Linked DNA regions of Homo sapiens: all the other regions are linked to region 1. Evidence: promoter capture Hi-C in 16 types of primary human blood cells and fetal thymus (Javierre and others, 2016). All regions are on one chromosome and are shown on one strand. The core of a region is centred on a gene start or on the middle of the fragment in contact, and the rest is flanking DNA. Distances in the headings are between cores, read along the strand shown.

Region 1 (2,635 bases), core at 66-2,565:
GGGACAAGACACCCAAAGAGGGTGGAGAGGGGCCTCTGAAACCTTGGGCCCAGCTGGGCCTGGAGGGTGGGGCGAGCTCACCAAGCTCAGGGCATCAGGTGTGGCTTTGTGGTAGGGCTGGTGGTCACATACCTTCCCCCAGCATCTCCATGGGGAGTGTGGGCCCGTGTGAATGCAGGAGGCGAGCTCTGCACCAGGGGAGCTCAGGACACAGCCAGGTTGCTCAGGCTCTAGGCCTGGCTTTTCCTGTTTCTTGCAGGTGAGGTTGCCTGACCTCTGTACCTGTTAACTTGTCTTTTAAAAATGGGATAGTGGTGTCTACCTCACACAATGATGGTAATTATGAAGTTCAGACATGTAGTGCTAAAATGGTACCTGGCTTGCAAGAGTGCTGTGTGAATGTGGCCCATGGCAACAATCTGTTTGCAAGCGTCACAAAGATAGCTTGTCTCAGCAAAGGAATAAGGGCTTAGGTGTTTCTCTTTAACTTTTTAAAAATTGAGCTAAAAGCCACCATTTAACCATTTTAAAGTGTACAGTTCAGTGGTTTAGTACATTTACAGTGTGCAGCCATCATCACTAATTCCAGAAGTTTCCATTTCTTTTTTCCACTCCAAAAAGAATCTCTCCACCTGTTAGCAGTCACTTCAATTACTCACCCCATCCCCTAGCAACCATTCATCTACTTTCCGTGTCTGTGGGTTCGTCTATGCTGAACATTTCACATAAATGGAATCATACAGCACGTGGCCTTTTGTGTCTAGCTTCTTGCTTAGCATACTGTTTTGAAGGTTTATCCATATTGTAGCATGTACTTCATTCCTTCTTATGGCCATCCTATGGATATACCTCATTTTGCTTATCAGTTGATGCACATTTCAAGGGTTTATTATTATTCTCTGGTCCTCAGGTTCTGTAACTCCAAACCATGGCACCCTGCCATAAGCGGGGCAGAACATACCCAACACCTCTATCTGGCCACAGCTCACTTTGGTTCTTCCTAACCCTCTGGAGGAGGCAGGGCCTATTTTTCCTATGAGAAAACTGAGGCCTAGAGATATGGAGACCTGCGGAAGATCCCACATTTCACGGGAAAACCGGAGACTTTCTACACTGGATTCAGGGACTACTGGGCCGAACAAAGAAATCCCGCCTTTCACCAAGCCCAGAACTGGGCGGGGCGTGGATTTGCTCGCTGCCCCTCCCAGAATTGGACGAAAACGAGGTGGGGCCAGCAGGCGCTCGGCAGGGCGGGCTCGCTCTTAACACGTGACAGCGCTCAGCCAATTGGCGCGGGGCGTCCGTAGCCACGGCAACAGGTTGCTTCTGCAGTCTGAGCTGAGCGCCTTTCGCACGACTTGGAGTTACGGTTTATCTGATACCCCGGTACCCCTACGCAAGCAAGCCCACATCGACACACATTCACACACGCCCTTCAGCACCCCCTCCCAGCACCACGACCATGGACGACGACTATGAAGCGTACCACAGTCTGTTCTTGTCGCTGCTCGGTAAGCCCCGGGAAGAAGCGTCTGCAGGGAGCGCTCAGCGCCCTAAGGACGCGTGAAAGTGGGGTGAGGGCAAAAACTCAGCCACAGATATTGTGCCGACCCCCTCTGGGTGAAGGGTTGCCATGGAGTCGGGGGCAGGTCATGTACATTTCTGAGATTTCTATCTGAGCCTAGTTGGAGGAACCAGAGGCCCGACCCATGTGACGGGAGCCCTCCAGCTCGCCCTGTTTCTCTGCAGGACATTAATGTATTCAGTACTGGAGGAGAGGCATGGAGAAGACGTCAGTCTTCAAGGTTTTGGCAGTAATGTGCTGGGGACCAAGTTCTTGGCAAAGCAATGCAGCTTCACGGGTAAAGGACAGAGATAAATGGATAATTACAGAATAAGAAGGGGTAAATGCCGGGCCCAGGGATGACACCCAGGAGTAAAAGGTGTGCTGAGGGTATGGGATGGGGAGGAACAGTTCCAAGCTTTTGGAAAAGATCTTTACACTGGAGCTTAAAGGATAAAAAGGAGTTCTCCAAGCCAAAAGGGGAAGGAAAAGCATTTCGGGCAAGGAAACAGCATGACCCAAGAGGTCTGGTGTCTCTGGAAATGAGGTGAGAGAGGTCAGAAGGGACAAGATCATAAAAGATACTGCAAGCCAGGAGATGGAGAGGCCACTGGGAGTGGCAGGACTGGATTGGGAGCAGTCAGAAAAGACCTGAGACTGAGTTGGCAGACTCAGAATGTTGGTGTGGGGAGATGAGAGCTGGGGGCTATAAAGCTTGAAGACTGAAGGTCTTCTCCATGCCGCTTCTCCAGCACTGAACACATTAATGCCCAGTGGAGAAACAGGGAGAGCTGGAGAGGCTGGCCACCTTTCCCAGGCACACAGGTCAGGGCTCTGGTCAAATGCCCAAGCTAAAGATGCTGGGAGGTGAGGGAGAAGGCCCAGGCTAGAGGGAACTACGGGACTTGGGGGCTGGTTGGTCAGGAAACACAGAAGAGGCAAATAAAGATGGTTCTCAAGTTGGCAGCTGGGGGACCTGGTAGATGGAGATGTCTTCCACAGAGATAAGAGAACGTACTCAGAGGACCCAGTTAGTGGGGGAAGGGGCACAAAGACAAATCCAGTCTTGGT
Region 2 (2,635 bases), core at 86-2,585, 62 kb before region 1:
CAGCGAGGCATGGCTTTATCCATGGGATTGGACCATGTAAAGAACAGCAAAGACATCCCAGTTGCATCAGTCATTTTGAGATCAGGTAAAACAAAACCGTGATGCCACAGTCTGTGGCGGTGCCTCCTTGGGAGACTCTAGACCCAAAGAAGAACAAGCCGGTCTGACCCTCTGGGGGGTCACGCAGCATCACAGCAGGAGAGGATGAGATGCATGGACTGATGAGAGACTGCCTATACATCTTGGCAACATGGGTAGAATGCAGGGGACAGCTATGCCTACCCAGTGGTGCCACAGACACAGGGGACCCAGAGCCCCTGGTACCACAGAGGGAGCAGAGGAGGGGAAAGCTGAGAGGGTATAAAGACAGATTCTGGAAGAAGGTGGAGGGGTAGGGAATGAATCCCACCAAGTCTGTGGAAGGCAAACTCTTTATGTAAACCCTAAAATTGCAGCCCTTGCCTTGAACTCACAGTAAAGCCAGAGACTTTAACTCATGGACCTCTAGAAGTTTCTGAGGAACAAGCAGACTGGTGTTAGCTAAGCTAGTTTTGCTGCTTTCAGATTCTGCCCAGGGTTTGGAGGAGCACAAGCCACCAGGTCAGGCTGCTTTCAGGTGGCTTTGCTGTCACCATTTATTGCCCCATTCAAAATGGGCTGACCTGTGCCTAGAGGAGGCAGCAGCTCCAGAGCCCTTTGAACTGAACACGCAGAGCAATCCTGACCACTTGCAGCCTCTGCTCAGCAGCATGGCATCCTCCCTCCTGAAAAGACCTCGGGAGATGAGCAAGTCCCCGGCCTGCCTTGCAGGTGACCACAATGCAACTTTATCTTTTCATCCCACAGGACCAGGCTTCCTGTCAAGAGACTGAGGACCCAGGGAGAAACATGTCTCGGCCCCTGTCCCCCTCCACAATTCAGAGGTCCACATTCTAACAGGGAAAGCTGGTCAATTAAACAGATCATGACACCTCCCAGAGCTAAGAGCTCTCCAACTACGAACCACATGCCTGGAGAACACGGATGAATGGTCTGAGCATGAGCAGGGGTGGGAGGCAGCGTTAAGGGAGGCATCAGAGTCAGAACCTGGCAAACAAGTGTTTGTGAAGAGGAATTCGTAGAAAAGGGCAATGCGGGCATCACATGGGCCAAGGAACACAGGGCTAAGACTACCTGTGTCCCAAGCTGTAGGTCTTACACATCACCCTCTAGATCTGGGTTTCCTTAAAGCGCCTTGAGAGGGCAACCCTGCAAAGCCCAGCACAGTGGCCAAGAGGGAAAGGAGCATTCGAGGTCTGAGTCCTCGCTCTGAGCCTACTTCTCTGCTTCTGGGCTCCAACCATCTTCTTTGTGGAAAGGGGCCTGCTACTGACACCCTCTCAAGGGTCTTTCTAGCTGTAGCTCAGCTGTGCTAGTGTCTAGGATTTGCCCATTAATAAATCTGTTTCCGAGTTCCTTCAACCTGACACATTTTGCAGCGTCAGGGTGCCTGGTCAGAGTCACAAGGCCCCTGAATGAGCTCAGCAGAGGGAAGCCTGGGAATAGGGAGGAACCTGCAGCTCTGCTCAGGGTCTGGCGGGAGCTCAGCAGCTCTTCTCTGCCATCTAGTGGGGATGGCTGTCCATCTCTAGGAACCACTATATCCAAGCTGGTGAGCCTGAGTGCCTGGCACAGAGTAAAGAGGTGGGGTACTCGGGATTTAGATGAAATAGTAACATCCAGCCTATCTTCAATATCATGTGGCTTTTTCAAAACAGCATGTTGTACACAATAGATATATACCACATACACTTACTTTTCAACTATAGTAAATCTGGCTGGGTGTGGTGGTTTATACCTGTAATCCCAGCACTTTGGGAGGCTGAGGCAAGAAGACTGCTTGAGCCCAGGAGTTCAAGACCTGCCTGGGCAACACAGTGAGTCCCCGTCTCAATATTTAAACAAATATATAAAAATATATATATTTATAAAAATATCAGTAAACACTCATATTAAACCTTGTGGCTTTTTACAATCCTTTCTATTCTAGGGATTTGTCGTCTCCCTCCCTGCTGGCATTTCTGGGTGGGGCAGGAGAGGGAAGCTCCCTCCATAGAGATGCCTCCTCCCTCCTCTGAATTCTTTTTTTTTTTTTTTTTTAAGTCAGAGTCTTGCTCTATGGCCCAGGCTGGAGTGCAGTGGCACCATCTCGGCTCACTGCACGCTCCGCCTCCCAGGTTCACGCCATTCTCCTGCCTCAGCCTCCGGAGTAGCTGGGACTACAGGCGCCTGCCACCATGCCCGGCTAATTTTTTGTATTTTTAGTAGAGACGGGGTTTCACCGTGTTAGCCAGGATGGTCTCGATCTCCTGACCTTGTGATCCGCACACCTCGGCCTCCCAAAGTGCTAGGATTTACAGGCGTGAGCCACCGCGCCTGGCCCCTCCTCTGAATTCTTACAGCCTCCTCCATCTCCACTTTCCTACACTGAGGACATCTAAAAATATAATCTAGATCATTGTTACACAACGATCACTTCCCTTGTTTAGTAATGGCTAGCATCTGCACAACCATCCCTGATTTAAATTCCCCTTTACAACATCTCAGTTAAGCCTCATGACTGCAGCGGGCATTCTCACCACCCCCATTTCAGAAC
Region 3 (2,635 bases), core at 98-2,597, 50 kb after region 1:
CAGACCCTATTCTCCTGCGTCATGCGGGAACAAGAACGAGTCTGAGTTTGGCCGGGACATCTTCAACAAGGAAAGGCCTTGCCCTTGTTTTAGGCCAGCCAGTGTGCTTCGGGGGCCTGCATCTCTCCTGGCTTCCTGGGCAGGAAAGAGCAGTCACCTGGGACCTCTGTGCTAATGGTTCCCAAATGTGGATGTGGAAGTGCTGTTTTCTCTGTTTGGGGTCTTTATCTTTGAAATTTCCAGTCCCATCTTTTAGTTTTAGTATTGAAGGCAAGTTTTTTCTCTTTAAGCTTGTGTAAACCAAAAGTAAAACTCTAAGCCCTCTGTGCCTCCATTGAATGAACCCCTCCCCTTGGAGAAGGGGAATTCCAAAAAACCCCTAAAAAACTAGTTCCAACCATCATGGGCATAAGGGGTCAGACTTGCCTCATTTTACCCTCCTCCCTTTAGAGTTTAGACACAATAGACCAGTATTAACAAGAAAACTGGGGTCTCAAGACTGACAAAACAGACTCTGTAGCAATGAGGCAGGATAGTACAGTCTGGAGGCAAGGAACTTAAGGCCAATTCATGCTGAATCAAGGAAAAACACCAAGGTCTGGGGGGAAGCAGGGAATCTGAGGCCAATTTGTGCTGACTTCCCAAAGCTGGATCAAAAGGGAAACACCTGGGTCTGGAGGCAGGGGCCCTAAGGCCAGTTAATGCCAACTTCCTGAAGCTAAACCGAAAGGAAAAACCCAGCTCCCCATGCCTTAGTAGCAAAGGGTCAAAGGTTACTCTTTCTACAACCCTCCCCCTTCCACCATGGCTTAGACAAAAAGGGAGAGTGGCTTGGAGTGGCCACAGGCCAAGCAGGGACCATCCCTTCATCTGCATAGGGTGCCATTCACCTCAGTGTTTACTTAGCCACAGACCAAATCCTTCAACTATATAAGGGGTAACTGATAGGAACCTCAAAAGGAGTGCTTGAAACCCAGAAAACTTTGTAACTGGGCCCTTGAGCTGCTCGGGCCCAGTCCCACCCTGTGGCGTACCTTCTCTCTTTTATAAATCCCTGATTTTGGTACTTCGATCCTGTGTTTCATTCCTTTGTTACTTAGTGCATTTTGTCCAGTTTTTTGTTCAAAACACCAAGAACCTAGACAACTTACACCCAAGGCCCTCCTTCCAGTAACAGCAATAGAACACCGTATTTCAACATGATTCTGATATACCATTGATGGCAGTGGCTGCTCCAGATCACTGTGTTTTGGACAATGAAATGTAGCCAACTGTTCAACTGTAGCTCCCAGCTGCAGCAGGGAGACGTGGCTGGGGTTGCACACTCCATGAAGCCCTTCCAAGTTGGGGTGGGAGCTCCCCAGGTGCCACTGCAGCTGCCCAAACCATTGGGTTGCAGACCTGGGCCTCCCACTCCACAGAGCAGGCAGGAGCCCTGCCCTCCGGGGCAGGGCTGTAGCTGCCCAACTTGTGGCTGCAGGTCTGAGCCTCCCTGTGCTCTTGGGAGGCCAGGAGCAAGCAGGATCCCTGCCCTCCCAGGCACAGCTGTAGCTGCCTAAACCATGGCTGCAGACTCAGGCACCCCTGCACTCTTGAGGGCCAGGAAGCATCCCTTCCCCTTGCAGGCTCAGCAGTGCCTGCTCCCATTGCCTGGCTTCTCCCTGCTGTTGTTGCCCACTCCAATCTTGGAGGAATGTTGGGGCCAAGCTCAGGTGTCATGAAGGCAGCAGGAGGCAGACAGATTCCTGGATGGAAGGGGGCCGGTCCCCAGTGAGGCCCCACCTTCAGGCCAGGGAGGGTCTGAAGGCTGGGAACCAAGGCTGCCAGTCTCATGGACTGGACTGGGAACTTGTGGTGCCTTTTCCAGGCCCACCCAAGTACCAATCAGCATACACTTTTTCCCCTCTGAGGCCCATAAAAACCCCAGGTTCAGCCAGAGCTAAGCAGACTATGGGATGACCAGCTGCAGAGAAGAGCTACCCTTTCTGCTGAGAGCTTCACAGGCCTGCAGAGATGTTGGGACTACCAGCTTCAGAGAGGAGCAACCCACTCCAGGGCTTCCTCTCTGCTAGGAGTTCGGCAGATGTCAGGACGACCAGTAGAGAGTGGAGCTACCCTCTCCAGGGGCTCCAATCTACTGAGAGCTGCAGAGACAATGAGATGAACTGCCTGCAGAGAGGAGCCACCCTCCCAGGGCCTCCTCTCTGCTGAGAGCTGAACACTCCACAGGACCACCTGCCTACAGAGAGGAGCTACCCATTGTGGGTCTCCTTATGCCCATGATGGTTGGAACTAGTTTTTTTTCATGACAGCATCATGAAACAGTAGGCCCTTAAGGAAATCAAAGTATTTTACCCCAAAATATATTTTGTTGACATATTTTGAAATGGGCCTGCAAAGCTTTCTCTTGTGTGGGAAAATTTGCATTCTGTAGAGAATCTCCTTCTCTTACTAGGTCTTTTCTGGAGAGGCTGACACTTTTTAAGGTCAGACAAGAGACATTTGCCATCTATTCTCTCTGAAGTTTGCTACCTGAAGGCTTCATCTACATGAAAAGAACCTGGGCTTGGCTGGGCACTGTGGCTGACACCTGTAGTCCCAGCACTTTGGGAGGCCGAGGTGGGTGGATCATGAG

What was found. Contacts are between HindIII fragments. The CHiCAGO score rates a contact against its expected background, and 5 or more counts as called.
Region 2: a fragment that was not itself captured here is called in contact with the fragment with the promoter of EFCAB12 in region 1 in 1 of 17 cell types (M2 macrophages); the score reaches 5.7 in M2 macrophages.
Region 3: a fragment that was not itself captured here is called in contact with the fragment with the promoter of EFCAB12 in region 1 in 1 of 17 cell types (endothelial precursors); the score reaches 8.2 in endothelial precursors.

Annotation. Positions count from the first base shown.
Region 1 is chr3:129,427,316-129,429,950 of GRCh38, reverse strand. It overlaps EFCAB12 (EF-hand calcium binding domain 12), which reads left to right and starts at 1,315. Exons shown (of 9, transcript NM_207307.3): 1 at 1,315-1,511. The coding sequence starts at 1,463. RefSeq lists a silencer at 1,129-1,178. The HindIII fragment of the contact is 3,479 bases long and covers 1-1,984 here.
Region 2 is chr3:129,489,343-129,491,977 of GRCh38, reverse strand. The region is part of intron 16 of IFT122 (intraflagellar transport 122); the gene reads right to left. Among named protein-coding and RNA genes, the nearest start is that of RHO, 38 kb to the left of the region's middle. RefSeq lists silencers at 1,616-1,685, 2,092-2,300 and an enhancer at 1,398-1,692. The HindIII fragment of the contact is 8,041 bases long and covers 1-2,635 here.
Region 3 is chr3:129,377,245-129,379,879 of GRCh38, reverse strand. No RefSeq gene overlaps it. Among named protein-coding and RNA genes, the nearest start is that of SNORA7B, 19 kb to the left of the region's middle. The HindIII fragment of the contact is 2,110 bases long and covers 293-2,402 here.